2 separate regions of the Homo sapiens genome follow, and region 2 is linked to region 1. Evidence: promoter capture Hi-C in 16 types of primary human blood cells and fetal thymus (Javierre and others, 2016). All regions are on one chromosome and are shown on one strand. Each heading gives the region's core, a stretch centred on a gene start or on the middle of the fragment in contact. The rest is flanking DNA. Distances are from core to core; before and after follow the strand shown. Region 1 holds the start of PHF13 (PHD finger protein 13). Region 2 overlaps CAMTA1 (calmodulin binding transcription activator 1).

Evidence for each region. The method cuts DNA at HindIII sites, captures the fragments that hold promoters and counts their contacts. A CHiCAGO score of 5 or more calls a contact.
Region 2: a contact is called between a fragment that was not itself captured here and the fragment with the promoter of PHF13 in region 1, in 1 of 17 cell types (neutrophils). The highest score is 5.8, in neutrophils.

What each region holds. Positions count from the first base shown.
Region 1 is chr1:6,610,843-6,618,045 of GRCh38, reverse strand. PHF13 (PHD finger protein 13) reads right to left here and starts at 4,315. Exons shown (of 4, transcript NM_153812.3): 1 at 3,941-4,315; 2 at 1,188-1,289. The coding sequence starts at 3,979. It overlaps LOC107984913 (a long non-coding RNA gene), which reads left to right and starts at 4,659. Exons shown (of 2, transcript XR_001737882.3): 1 at 4,659-5,354. RefSeq lists silencers at 3,127-3,586, 3,727-3,816, 3,987-4,766, 4,817-4,866. The HindIII fragment of the contact is 6,383 bases long and covers 2,214-7,203 here.
Region 2 is chr1:6,797,300-6,804,502 of GRCh38, reverse strand. The region is part of intron 1 of CAMTA1 (calmodulin binding transcription activator 1); the gene reads right to left. Among named protein-coding and RNA genes, the nearest start is that of CAMTA1, 15 kb to the right of the region's middle. The HindIII fragment of the contact is 730 bases long and covers 2,800-3,529 here.

The sequences.
Region 1 (7,203 bases), core at 3,066-5,565:
AGTGAAAAAACCTCCTTCATCTACATCAAGTTGCAGCCATGAGTCCCTGAAGACAATCATACGCATTTCGGGCAGCCAGGGAGCTGAGACAGAGGCAGCGTGTGCACTGAGTCCAGCCATCTGGTTGAACCCCAAGCTCCACCACTAATCAGTGGGTGACCTAAGACAAAGTTTTCCCTCTCTATGCCTTAGTTTCCTCAGCTTATAAACTGGAGATAAAAAATAGCACCTACCTCATAGCATTACATAGGCCAAGAATAGTGTCCAGCTATGGTCAACAGTCAGTAACTACAGACCCTTATTAAAAGCAAGCAGACAGCCAGGTGCAGTGGCTCAACGCTTGTAATCCCAGCACTTTTGGGAGGCCGAGGCGGGTGGATCATGAGGTCAGGAGTTCGAGACCAGCCTCGACAACACGGTGAAACCCCGTCTCTAGTAAAAATACAAAAAACTAGCTGGGTGTGGTGGCGCGCCCAGCTACTCATGAGGCTGAGACAGGAGAATCGCTTGAACCCAGGAGGCAGAGGTTGCAGTGAGCCACAATTGCACCACGGCACTCCAGCCTGGGCGACAGAGCCAGACTCCATTTCAAACAAACAAACAAAAAGAGCAAGCAAATATCACATATTTTATTTGTAAATAAACTGAAAGTTTACTAAATCGGCTGGGCGGTAGCTCACGCCTGTAATCCCAGCACTCTGGGAGGCCGAGGCAGGTGAATCACCTGAGGTCAGGAGTTCGAGACCAGTCTGGCCAACAAGGTAAAACCCTGTCTCTACCAAAAATACAAAAAAGAATTAGCGTGGTGGCGCACGCCTGTCATCCCAACTACTGAGGAGGTTGAGGCAGGAGAATCCCTTGAACCCGGGGGTGGAGTTTTACGACACTGCACTCCAGCCTGGGCGACAGAGCAAGTTTCCATTCCAAAAAAAAAGAAAGTTTACTAAATCATTTTCTAGACAAGCCTGCATTTTCTACCAGAGTTTTTACCAGAGTTTTAGAACCATTTCCCCAGCTAATTCAAACTCTCAAGAAACAGATTTCTGCCAGACTAGTGACTGGGGTCACCACAAGCAGCCCCTTCCAAACCTACTGACCCTCTGACCAGTCAGAAGCCCACGAACTTGCGGTGGAGGCACTGGGTTTGACTACTCATCAAGAAAGGTCTCAGAAACTCAGAAGATTACCTCCTTCGGATAAGGGATGTAGCCAGCATAGGCCAAGACAAAGGTGCAGAATTTGTTGAAGTCTTCCACGGTCCTGCGCCTCTTGCAACTGGGGGAGTATTCCTATTAAGGGGAGAGAAAAGGGAATGTGTTTGAAGGAGAGGCTTCCAGGCGGAATCACAGAAACAAAAGGAAGTAAGCTGGAACTTTTGTAGTCAATCACTCAAAAAATACCGTTAGATTTACACAGTCCACAAACAAGATACGGTAAGTTCAGGTCAAGAAATAACACTATTTTCAGAGAGCAGAAAGAGGAGTATTAAGACTTTATGCCAAGAATGCTGGGAAATCAGCTGGGAGATAAAAACTTCTACAAAAGTCTATTTCTTAGTGCTCATGTGGCATTTTCTGACTTTATCTATTAGTTTCCACAGGCCTATCAGGCGAAGCTCTAATAACTACTTTTTTGCTACAGATTTTCCATTCTGAGTATGAACTGCTGCAGCAGCAGCTGGAACTGATGTATGTTAAGTGATTTCAAAAATCAACCACTCGCCGGGCGCGGTGGCTCTCGTCTGTAATCCCAGCACTTTGGGAGGCCGAGGCGGGCGGATCACGAGGTCAGGAGTTCGAGACCAGCCTGACCAACATGGTGAAACCCCGTCTCTACTAAAAATACAAAAATTAGCCGGGCGTGGTGGCGTGCACCTGTAGTCCCAACTACTCAGGAGGCTGAGGCAGGAGAATCGCGTGAACCCGGAGGCGGAGGTTACAGTGAGCCAAGATCGCGCCACTGCACTCCAGCCCGGTAGACAGAGCTAAGATTCCAACTCAAAAAAAAAAAAAAAAAAAAATCAACCACTCATTCTCCAGAGCTCTCGGAGACCTGGACCCTGGAGTTCACTCCTGGCTGACCCTGCCAAGCTAGCGCCACCTGAGGACCCCTCTCTCGTGCTCAGAGGGTCCCCTCCACTGTCCCAGCCAGTCGGGATGCCAGGCACCCAACTATCTCAACTCACAATAAACCAAGAACCTTACTGCGAAGCTTAGTCTTACATTTAAACGGAATAGTGGAGGTTTTTGCTCGCGGGTCCCAGCCCCATTCCATCTAGAAACACCCATCACAAAAAGATATTTTCTCCTGAGAGAAGCACGGAGAGATGGAGCTCTTATTTGCTCCTAAGCAAAACAAGTGTGCCGTATTGCTGTTTATTCGCCCGGCACGTTCCCTGAGGTTCCTTTCAGTGCCTTGTCCGACCCACCCCCATCCTTCCCGAGGTGCTGTTACCCGGCCGCCACTCTGCTGGGGGAGAGCCGGTGGGGAAATGGGGGGCAGGGGTCTCGGGCCGCCCCTCCCGCCGCGAGGAGCAGGCGTGCGGCCCGCGGGTTTTCTTTCGAGAAAGTCGGTGCCCTTAGAAAATTATTTTCTCAACCTGGTTCAAGCAAACCTTCTCCTCTCCCACCCCCTTGGACCCCAGGGCCGCCCACGGAGCGGAGGCGAAGGCCCGCGTTGACCGCGCTCCCCGCACTGGCGAGCCTGCCCAGCCACGGGAACCGCGGGCCGCCACCCGGGCCTCCAACTCCCGCGAAGAACTTTTCTTTCGGCGGGGAACCAGCAGAAGTGGGTCAAAAACCCGAATGCCAAGTGGAGGGCGGCGACGGCCTCGGGCCGGGGGCGCGCGGGAGGCACCGGCGCGGGGACTGGGGGTTCCACGCCGCCCCCACACGGCCCACGCCGCCCGCCCCCCCGGCCGCCTCCTCGGAAAGCAGATGGCGGAGCGGCCCCCACCCGCCCTCCCGCGGCAGCCGCCCCCCGCGACACTCGGCCCCCGAAGGTGCGGGGCCCATCCCGCGAGTATGTGTGAGGGGGGTGCGCCAGGCAGGATTCCGGGGTCCCAGGCCTGGGGAGGCCCTGCGAACCCCCGGGGGCGGCAGCGAGACCGGCGGGCTCCGGCGCCGCCTCCCCTCCCCCACCCGCCCGCGGTCGCCGGACCCGCACCCCCGACCCCAACGAGCCTCGGCTGGGGGGAGGGGACCGCGCGGGGGGGAGGCCGGGAGCCCCGAGGGCCGATCCCCGGAAGGAGGGGGAGTGAGCCGGGGCGGAGCCAGCAAAGCCCGCGGGCGGGGGGCGGGGGCCCGAAGAGAGAGGCCAGCGCGCCGGGGGGCGGTGGGTGGGGGCAGGACTCGGGTCCCCAGAGCGGGTGGGGCCCCCGGAGGACGCGGCCCCCGAGAGCCGTAGGGGGCGGGGGCCGACTGGGCCCCGCGCGGAGTCAGGGGGCGGGGCGCGGGCCACCGGGCCCGGGGGATCGGGGGAGCAGCCGGGGGCCTCGGGAGCCGACCCCGGTCCGAGGGGGGCCTAAAACTCCTCGAGAGCAACCGGAGCCAGGGGCGGGCGGCGGCTCGGACCGCGTCCCCGGGGGCGGGGAAAGAGTAAGCAGGCCGGCGGGGAGGGGCTGGGGGCGCCGACAGGTCCCAGGTCGACGCGAGGCCGGAGAGGGGCGGCCCGGGGGAGAGAAATAGGCGCAACGGCCCTGGGGAAAGGGCGCGGGGAGGACGCGGAGGTCCGCGGAGGGGACGCGGAGGCGAGGCCCGGCGGAGAGGACCGAGCGCGGGCCCGAGCAGGGGGCGGGGGTTGGGCTCCCGGGGGGGCCGACGAGGGGAAAGCGGGGGAAGGGGAGGGCGGCGCTCCGGGCGACCGGGGGTCTGGCTGCCTGAGGACGGCAGGATCGCGGAGGGGGTGGTCGGGGGCGATTCGGACGCACAGCTTCACTCACCTCCGGGTGGAAGGCGGCGGCGCAAGAGTCAGAGTCCATGTTCCGGGCGGGGGGCGGCGGCGGCTGCGAGAGTGCAGGAGCTGGGATGCTGGAGCGGGGCCGCCCGGGGCTGGGGGCTCGGGCGGCTGCGCAGGGCGAGGGCGGACCCGGGAGGGGTCGCCCGGGCTGGAGGTGATGGGGGGCTCAGCGCGTCGCTTCTCAAGCTCTGTGACCCCGGACTGGCGGTTCCACCGCCGACCGGAGTGGACGATGCAGCTCCCGCGGCGGTAGAGGCGGGAGAGTGGCTGCAGGGGGCGGCGGCGGCGGCGGTGAGCGGGAACCCGACCGGCTCCCCGACCTGACGCCCAGTTCGGCTCGTGTCTCGGGAGGGAGGGCGGGAGAGCCGGGAGGCCTGTCGGGAAATGTAGTCTGGGTGGCGACTGGAAGCCAGCGGCGAGGGGGCGTGGCGCGGGAGGCGGGCGCGGTGCCTTGTGGGAGTGGTAGTCCAAGGCCCCGCCAATACTGCGCACAAAGGAAACCTTGGGGACTCCAACCCCCATGAGGCTCCGCGGCGGCGGCCCCGGTGTGTGGAGGCGGGTCTTCTGGACTCGAGGCCGCGCGAGCGGGGGAGGTGCGGGGGCCCGCGCCGGCTCGGCCGCGGGGGGAGGGGCAGTGTGAGCGGTAGCGCCTTGGTCTCGGCGGGCGCGGGGGCGGGAGTCGCTGCGGCGGTGGGGGCGGGGCTGACGGCCCGGGTTGCGAAGGGCGGCGGCGGCTGGCACCTACCCTTCCTCGTCTCCTACTTGGGGTTCGCGCCCCTTTGTGGGGCGGGGGTCCCCGAGGCCTGGCCGGGAGTAGGGGCGGCAGGGGCGGGGACGCTGACGTCGCGGCCGCCCCGGGCATCGCTCCCCGCTCCCCGCTCCCCGCTGAGGGCGGAGTCGCCGCCCGGCCCCCGCTCCAGGCCGGGCTCAGCGAAGTTGTTTTCGCGGCTGCGGGCTTCGTGCGGCTCCCTGCTCCGGGCCCGCGGGGCCGGGACTGGACCGGGCTCTTCTCTAGGCATCTGCGGGATTCACTCGAGGTGGCCGGGTTCGTGCATTAAAAACACCGGGCCAGCGTTGTCAGTGTTCTAAAGAGGTGTGCGTTCAGTTTGCTTTCTGTTGCCGCCTAAGCCTAACCTTGGGACCGGCCGTTTTCCCACTCTCCTGAATATCCTCCGGCCCGCAGGGCGAGGCGGAGACGCGGTGTTTGGCGCTGGCATCGACTGGTACTTGTTTAGTGGTGTTTAACTGGGATGGGCAGTGTGTAAACGCTGGACCGCAGAGTATCCGACAGCTGTACGTGTGGAAGGCTGGCCGGACACGGTGGGGACTGCCCCTATGCGGTGACCAAAAGGCGGTCTGACGGGAACATTTTTAATATTCGAAAGTGGGGGAAAAAGGTAAGTACAAAACGCAGATGATTCAGTAACCTGTTTGGTAGCTTCGAAGAAGTTAAAGGGGAGTGACACAAAATTGAAAATTCAAATTAGAAAACGAACTCTTGGAGATACTAGTAAGATATTTGACAGGCGCCGAATGCTCCATCAAGCTGGCTGTTGCTATTTCAAGGGTTATGATCATTCTGATGAAGATATTTAATAGTTAGGAGATGGTGTTAATCTTAGAAATACTTCTCTGAGCGGCCGGGCGCGGTGGCTCGCGCCTGTATTCCCAGCACTTTGGGAGGCCGAGGCGGGTGGATCACGAGGTCAGGAGTTCGAAACCAGCCTGACCAACATGGTGAAACCCCGTCTTTACTAAAAATACAAAAATTAGATGGGCGTGGTGGCGGACACCTGTAATCCCAGCTACTCGGGAGGCTGAGGCGGGAGAATTGCTTGAACCCGGGAGGCGGAGCTTGCAGTGAGCCGAGATCGTGCCACTGCACTCCAGCCTGGGCGACAGAGCGAGACTCTGTCTCAAAAAAAAAAAAAAAAATACTTCTCTGAGCCTCAGTTTCCTAAGCTGTTAAATTTTAGCGTAGTGCCTGGCTAAATAAATGGTAGCTTACTGTTGTTGTTGTTGTTGTTGTTTTATTATTTCTGCAATATTGTAGCCCATTGGAGGGCTTCCCAAAGGTGATAAATTGAGGTACTTTACAAGATAAAACATGAAATTACTGATTAAAACAGAGACATTGGACTTGGCCCATCGAGACTTGATTAACAACTTCTTATACAATTGCACAGATGATTTAGCCAGATTTGGAATGTTACCTGGTTACTGTGACCAAAGCAGATGCCCCGAAGTTAGCCTGTATTGCCCAAGGTCATATTCACAAGGAGCAACTCGTTTTGCCAGAATAAGAAACACTGCTAAGGTGTTGATCCCGTTGGTAGTTTAAAAATGTAAATACCAAAAAGAATAATTCTTTTTTTTTTTGGAGACAGAATCTCCCTCTGTCGCCAGGCTGGAGTACAGTGGCGCCATCTCAGCTCACTGCAACCTCCACCTCCCGGGTTCAAGCGATTCTCCTGCCTCAGCCTCCCAAGTAGCCTGGACTACCAGCGCCCACCACCACGCCCAGCTAGTTTTTGTATTTTTAGTACAGACAGGGTTTCACCATGTTGGCCAGATGGTCTTGATCTCTTGACCTCGTGATCCGCACACCTAGGCCTCCCAAAGTGCAGGGATTACAGGCGTGAGCCACCGCGCCTGGCCAAGAATAATTATTAGAGGTGAAACCCAAGTGAAAGAAGAGGGATTTTTTTTTTTACACCTCATTATTATCCCCTGTGGTAAATGTGTCACATAATAAACATTAAATCCTTTCCCACACACACACATATTAAGAAATTATCGGGCCAGGCACGGTGGCTCACACCTGTAATCCTAGCACTTTGGGAGGCCGAGGCAGGCAGATCACCTGAGGTCAGGAGTTCGAGACCAGCCTGACCGACATGGGTCAGGGAGGTGGAGGTTGCAGTGAGCCGAGATCACGCCATTGCACTCCAGCCTGGGCAACAAGAGCGAAACTCCATCTCAAAAAAAGAAAGAATGGCCACCCGCCTCAGCCTCCCCCAAAGTGCTGGGATTAACAGGCGTGAGCCACCATGCCAGGCCTAATTTTTTTTTTTTTAAGACAGGGTCTCCGTATGTTGCCAAGGCTGTTCTGGAACTCCTGGGCTCAAGGGATCCTCCCACCCAGGCCTCCCAAATTGTAGAGTTTACAGTCCTGAGCTATCTTGCCTGCCTGGAGTGAATACCCACTCTGAGCAAAAGTTATCACTTGAGTCTGAAAATCTGTCC
Region 2 (7,203 bases), core at 1,915-4,414, 190 kb before region 1:
AGGGAGTGGCTGCTAATGGGTACAGATTTTCTTTTTGGAGTGATGAAAATGTGGAATTAGAGAGTGGGGACAGTTGCACGAAACATGTAAATATACAAAAGAAAACCCACTCAATTATATATTTTAAAAGGGTTAATTTTATAATATATGAATTACATCTTAAGCTATTATTAAAAAACAAATCAGGCTGGGCACAGTGGCTTATACCTGCAATCCCAGCACTTCGGGAGGCCAAGGCTGGAGGATCACTTGAGGCCAGGAGTTTAAGATCAGCCTGGGCAACATATTGAGACCCTGTCTTTACCAAAAAAAAAAAAAAAAAAAAAGAGTTTCGCTCGTTTCCCAGGCTGGAGTGCGATGGCACAATCTCGACACACTGCAACCTCTGCCTCCCGGGTTCAACTGATTCTCCTGCCTCAGCCTCCCAAGTAGCTAGGATTACTGGCACCCGCCACCATGCCCAGCTTTTTGTATTTTTTTTAGTAGAGAAGGGGTTTCACCCATGTTGGCCAAGCTGGTCTGGAACTCCTGACCTCAGGAGATCCACCCGCCTCAGCCTCCCAAAGTGCTGGGATTACAGGCGTGAGCCACCATGCCTGGCCAAAAAAAAAAAAATTTTAATCAGCTAGGCATGGTGATACATGCCTGTACTCCTAACCACTTGGGAGTCTGAGGCAGGAGGATCACTTGAGTCCAGGAATTCAAGGTGCCAGTGAGCTACGATCACACCTCTGCACTCCAGCCTGGATGACAGAGTGAGACCATCTTTAAAAAGAAATAAAATAATTTAAAAAAGAACCAAATCCCTGTAACTACTGAAACCACTGTGAAGGTTGTTTCTTTAAAAACATACACTTTCCTCTTTTGTTTAGCAGAACATACTCAGTATTGCTTTTCTGAATTTACTCAAGGTCAACACTATGAAACATCAATGACTAAACAGCTGTAAATTCAGAGAATTCAACGGTGCGCAGGCTAGTAGCCCTTTACATAGTTATCTCCAAACTACTATTCTTTCACAGTATTCCACCTGTCTTCTATAATTTTGTTTCCTCCTTCTACCATGAAAAATCAAGAACAACAAGAGATCAGAGGCAGGAGGGATATACTAAGGAAAAGGTGAAGGACTGTGCACACAGGCAGCCACATACACTTAAAGAGAGGCTGTTTTCTGTTTTCTTCCCCGCTTGTTTTCTGCTTTCTACCCATTCTGAAGGCAACGTCTCCCATTCTTACTAAGGATACACATCTCCATCCTTTTATGTTTACCGACCCAAAACAAGGGGAAAAGTGGGGAAGCCCACCCAAATAGCTGAACTGTGGAAGACCTCAAATGATACTGACATCACCCAAACTGCCTGATTCCACCTGAGAACACCCACAGGGCAAAGACCGCACAGACCATAGCATTCCAAGGTGTTCTGCTTCTCCACTATTCAAAGAAAAAGTTCTGGGGCCGGGCACGGTGGCTCACGCCTGTAATCCCAGCCCTTTGAGAGACTGAGGCAGGTGGATTGCTTGAGCTGGCCAAGAGTTCAAGACCAGCCTAGGCAACATAATGAAACCCCTGTCTCTACTAAAAACATAAAAATCAGCCGGGCGTTGTGGCATATGCCTGTGTTTTCCAGCTAAGTCCTCAGCTTGGGGGGCTGAGGTGGGAGGATCACTTGAGCCCAGGCTGTCGAGGCTTCAGTGAGCTGAAATTGTGCTACTGCACTCCAGCCTGGGCGACAGAATAAGACCTTGTCTCAAAAAAAAAAAAGAGAGAGAGAGAGACAAAGAAAAAGCTTTGAGACAGTTACTACACCTACCACTAACTTACTCCACACACACCCAGGCTGGCTGACCAAGGACACTTGGCCTTCTATCTGTAGCTACACTGAACACTTTCTCTGCAAAACTCTATAGCATCTGAACATAAGACACTCCTTTAGGAGTCAATATCTTTTCTTTTACACTGTTTGATGGGGACAGAGTTTGAGGTGCCAGGACCCCCTGCTATGATAACCAGCTTCTCACACAATCTCCTCTCACTCTAAGACCCTCTAAATGATCAGCAGGCTGCTGGATCTAACCAACCTTCTTTCATAGTCGACCAGAGTGAGATGATCACCTGGCCTATGGAAACAAAGCAAATGGCTGAGAGGAGTCAGTCCAATACCCAGTCTTGAATATTTTTGTACTGAGCCATAGAAATGGGAGTCAGATGATGATGAGTACTGGAACTAGAGTCAGGACATGCAGGAGCCATGACTAAGGCCACTACATGTAACTCAAGCAAGGAAGCTACATGTGAATGGAAAAAGCCCAGCTCCAGAGAAGACATGTACTCCAGACTCTCCAGATCCAGTTCCCACTGCCCAGCTGCACTTCAGTTTCTGTCCCGAGAGGCTACGATTGCTTCTGCTCTTCTTAGACTAAAACTGCTTTCACTTGGCCTAAACTGTGTGGCTCATGGGACTTGCAATCAAAAGTGCTCTAATCTAAAGCACGGCCTGCTTACCTTCCCTGACATCAACCCCAAACCATCTGTTTCCTAGTGTTTATTAAGAACCTCAGACTTTTCTGAATGAGCTAGCCAATCCTCTTTACAAATATAAATATTGCAAATATTAAAATCTCACCTAAAAATCACTTTCTGTATAAATGAACCTCAGGGCCTGATTACCATCACTTTTTTTTTTTTTTAATGTGTGATTCTGACAGTTTATTTAAGGCACAGCCTCCCACCTTGGGGTCATGAAAATATTGGCCATATATTTACTGTTAGGACATTATAACTAGTTTTCTCATTAAGCTTCAAATCCATTTGAAGTTTTTATTTTTTTAATTGTGGCAAAATATGCATAACATAAAATTTACCACTTTAACCCTTTTTGAGCATACAATTTAGTGAAATTAGGGACATTCCTATTGTGTATCACCATTAGCCATAGCTTATTTTCAAAGCATTCTGAAAATCATGACTTTTTTATTTTTATTAAACAAGTGTTTATGTTCCCTCATCAAATGACAAGGGCCAGGAGCCTCATCAGTGGCAGGACTGTGGCAGGACAGTGACGAAGGTAGCAAAGAGCACCCACAACAACTTGGAGCAGCACCAGAGCAGCTAAATCCATCCTCAGTTCCTCCAGACATGGCCACAGAAGCTAAAGAGACTAAAAATACTTGGAGAGGACAGATAAAAAGCTGTCAAGGATATTTAGCCCAGTTAGAGAGGTCGCCACTATCACCATATTTGCATCAGAAAACACTCATACAAGCTGCAGTGGGAAATATTTAGAATAATTAGATTCAGTACAGAAAGCCTGATGTTCCTTCCCTCCCAGAATGCCTGGAAGAAATCTCTGGGCCTTGAATTTGGTCAAGTTATCTATGATCAATTTCTGGAGGACCCCTAGGAAGAAAGACAAGTACTTCAAAAATGTTAAGTGCCCACTCTCCACCCTTCTAACTTGTTATAGCTTTCTTTTTAGCACAACAGCCTCTATCAAGAAAACCAAATGAGGAAGAAACTTTCATCAAAGCTTTGTGAAAGCAAATGATTCAGCCAGAACATTTCATAATGGCTGAGATGGAAAGGATAAGGCAGGGAATGTTTACACGAACACCAGGAACTTCAACTTGCCTCTCAGTATCTTTAAAAATGAAAGAAACTTCCAAAAATAAATTATGTTCACGGCCTCTCCAAACGCGAGGCCTATAGGAGGCCCAGGGAGCAGGTTCAAGTGAAGATGTGATATGATCAATGACAGTGGGCCCACAGCAACTCCCCAATCCACACGAGTTTCTAAATAGGAAGAGTCTTCATTTACTGAATTACTGGGAATCGATAGATTTTAATAACAGTTATATTAATCAACTCCAGAAAGTACAACTAAATGAATATAAATACTACCTTAAACATAAAAAGTCTGAGGTTAGCAAATATTTTTCATCTGTAATCATATATTATTTAAGTCTATTTTCCAAAACTATGAACCCTCATCTATGTCTGAACAAAGACCTCAGATCTGTCATACAGAATAACTATGAACATTTTGGTGTTGTACATCTTTTTTAATAAATTTAAATTTTTTTACATTTTGTTTGTTTTGAGACAGGATCTCACTCTGTCATCCAGACTGGAGTGCAGTGGCGTGATCGTAGCTCACTGCAGCCTTGACCTCAAGGGCTCAAGTAATCCTCCAACCTCAGCCTCCCAGGTACCTGGGATCACAGGCGCACACCAACACATCTGGCTAATTTTTTCTATTTTTAGTAGAGACAAGGTCTCACTATGTTGCCCAGGCTGGTCTCGAACTCCAGGGCTAAAGCAATCCTCCCGTCTCGGCCTCCCAAAGTGCTTAGATTATAGGCACCGAGCCACAGCACCCGGCCTACGTTTTTTAAAGTAAATATAGTATATTAAACAGACAGACCTAAAAAATTAAGCCCTCTATGTACCTCAGAAAGGAGATATCTGAGTGTCTGTAGTTCAAATCCCCCCATACAGCTTGAGTCAACATATTATTCTTGTCCTGGAGCAAGGACCTCAAAAGGAAAAGATACAGTTATACAGAATAGCTGAATATCAGGAAAGCAAGCCCTGAAATGAAATTCCATATCTCCGACTTCATTTCCTTACACAATAGTCCCCCTCTTATCCATGGTTTCAGTTACAAGCGGTCAACTAAGGTCCAAAAATAGGTGAGTATGGTACAATAAGATAATCAGAGAGAGAGAGAGACCACATTCACACAACTTTTATTACAGTATATTGCTGCAACTGTTCTGTTTTATCATTAGTTATTGCTATTAATTATTAATAGTAATTATTATTAATGGGAAGGAACTTTCGAGGTCATCGCTAGGAAAACCCTTTACCCAACACATGAATCCCCTCAAAATGACTACCAACTATCTCATTACATAAGAGCTGAGGTCTGAGAAAAGCAAGATGAGGAAAAGCTGTGCTGGAATCAAGAGTGATAAATGCAGAAATACCATCTGGTAAAAGAAGGTATGGAGGCCATGGAGAGAAAGGCTTCTAGCTCCTGGTCCACCTAAGTGGCAGCAAAGACAGCACAGGATGCAGCTCTGCTGGGATCCTTGAGTCCTGCTCACCAGCATTCCCAGCTAGTGAAAGAGTACAAGCCAGGCACAGCGGCTCATGCCTGTAAGCCTGGCACTTTGGGAGGCTGAGACAGGATGACTGCTTGAGGCCAGGAGTACAAGACAAGCCTGCGCAACATAGCAAGACCCTTTCTCCATAAAATTAAAAAAGAATTAGCCGGGTGTGGTGGCACACGCCCGTAGTCCTCACTACTCAGGAGGCTGAGGCAGGAGGATCACTTGAACCCAAGAGTTCAAGGTTGCAGTGAGCTGTGATGGCACTCTAGCCTGGGTGACAGATCAAGACTCTTGTCTCTAAAAAATTTTTTTAATTAATAATAAGTAACGAATAAATAAATAATAAATAAATAGTAAAAAGGAAAGAGTTTGAGCTGGGAATCCAAGTGGGCTTGTTCTACAAGCTGTCTAGGAAGTGCAAAGCCTTCACAGCTAGAGAACTAACCAATCACTGATTGGTTCAGGGTTAGATAAAAATGATAACGCTTTAGCCAGGCGTGGAGGTGGAGGCTAACGTCTGTAATCCGAGCACTTTGGGAGGCAGAGGCGGACGGATCATGAGGTCAGGAGATAGAGACCATCCTGGCTAACAAGGTGAAACCCCGTCTCTACTAAAAATACAAAAAATTAGCCGGGCGCGGTGGCGGGCGCCTGTAGTCCCAGCTACTCGGGAGGCTGAGGCAGGAGAATGGCGTGAACCCGGGAAGCGGAGCTTGCAGTGAGCCGAGATTGCGCCACTGCAGTCCGCAGTCCGGCCTGGGCGACAGAGCGAGACTCCGTCTCAAAAAAAAAAAAAAAAAAAAAAATTAGCCAGGTGTGGTGGTGGGCGCCTGTGGTCCCAGCTACCCAAGAGGCTGAGGCAGGAGAATGGCGTGAACTCGAGAAGTGGAGCTTGCATCACTGCACTCTAGCCTGGGCGACAGAGATAGACTCTGTCTCAAAAGATAAATAAATAAATAATTCTGATGCTACCGCCAGTATTCCAGACTTTTTGAAACCTAATAATAATAGCCCATAACTTTTCATAAATTCTACAGTGGCACATGGCTTTGAAAATTAGGGGGTTTTTACAGAGCCCTCTACCATTAAATATTCCTTTTTTAGGCTGGGTGCGGTAGCTCACACCTGTAATCCCAGCACTTTGGGAGGCCGAGGTGGGTGAATCACCTGAGGTCAGGAGTTCAAGACCAGCCTGGCCAACATGGTGTCTCAACTAAAAATACAAAAATTAGCCCAGCGTGGTGTTCAGCACCTGTAATCCTAGCTACTTGGGGGGCGAGGCAGGAGAATCGCTTGAACCAAGGCGGCGGAGGTTGCAATGAACCAAGATCGCGCCATCGCACTGCAGCCTGGGGGACAAGAGCAAGACTTTGTCTCAAAAAAAAAAAAAAAAATTCCTTTCTTCATTATCACTTGCAAATAGATTCTTTTATAGAAATTATATTTAAATAATATATAAATTATTTCATTATTAGGGAAAACAATGTCATTTAAGTCATCTTCAATGTTTATTCACAGTCTACTTGCTTTTATTTCCTTTCTCTTAGCAAATCTACTGAAAGGAGAAAGCCAGCTAACAGACCACTCTTCTGTTACCTATTAGATAATTTAGTTTAACCTAAAGGAACACAAAGCTCTAGTTTCATTTAAGAATGGGAGGACACAGGATCTGTGAGTTGTTATGGCATTTAAAAAGTCATCTCAAGACAGGCGCGGTGGCTCACGTCTGTAATCCCAGCACTTTGGGAGGCAGAGGCAGGCAGATCAGCTGAGGTCGGGAGTTTGAGACCAGCCTGGCCAACATGGTAAAACCCCGTCTCTGCTAAAAAAAACAAAAATTAGCTAGGCGTGGTGGTGCATGCATGTAATCCCAGCTACTCAGGAGGCTGAGGTGGGAGAATTGCTTGAACACAGGAGGCAGAGGTTGCGGTGAGCCAAGATCATGCCACTGCACTCCAGCCTGGGTGACAGAGCTAGATTCCATCTCAAAAAAAAAAAAACCCAGTAAATAAAAAATAAAAAGTCATCTCAGCCGAACGTGGTGGTTCATGCTTGTCATCCCAGCACTTTGGGAGGCCGATGCAGGAGGAT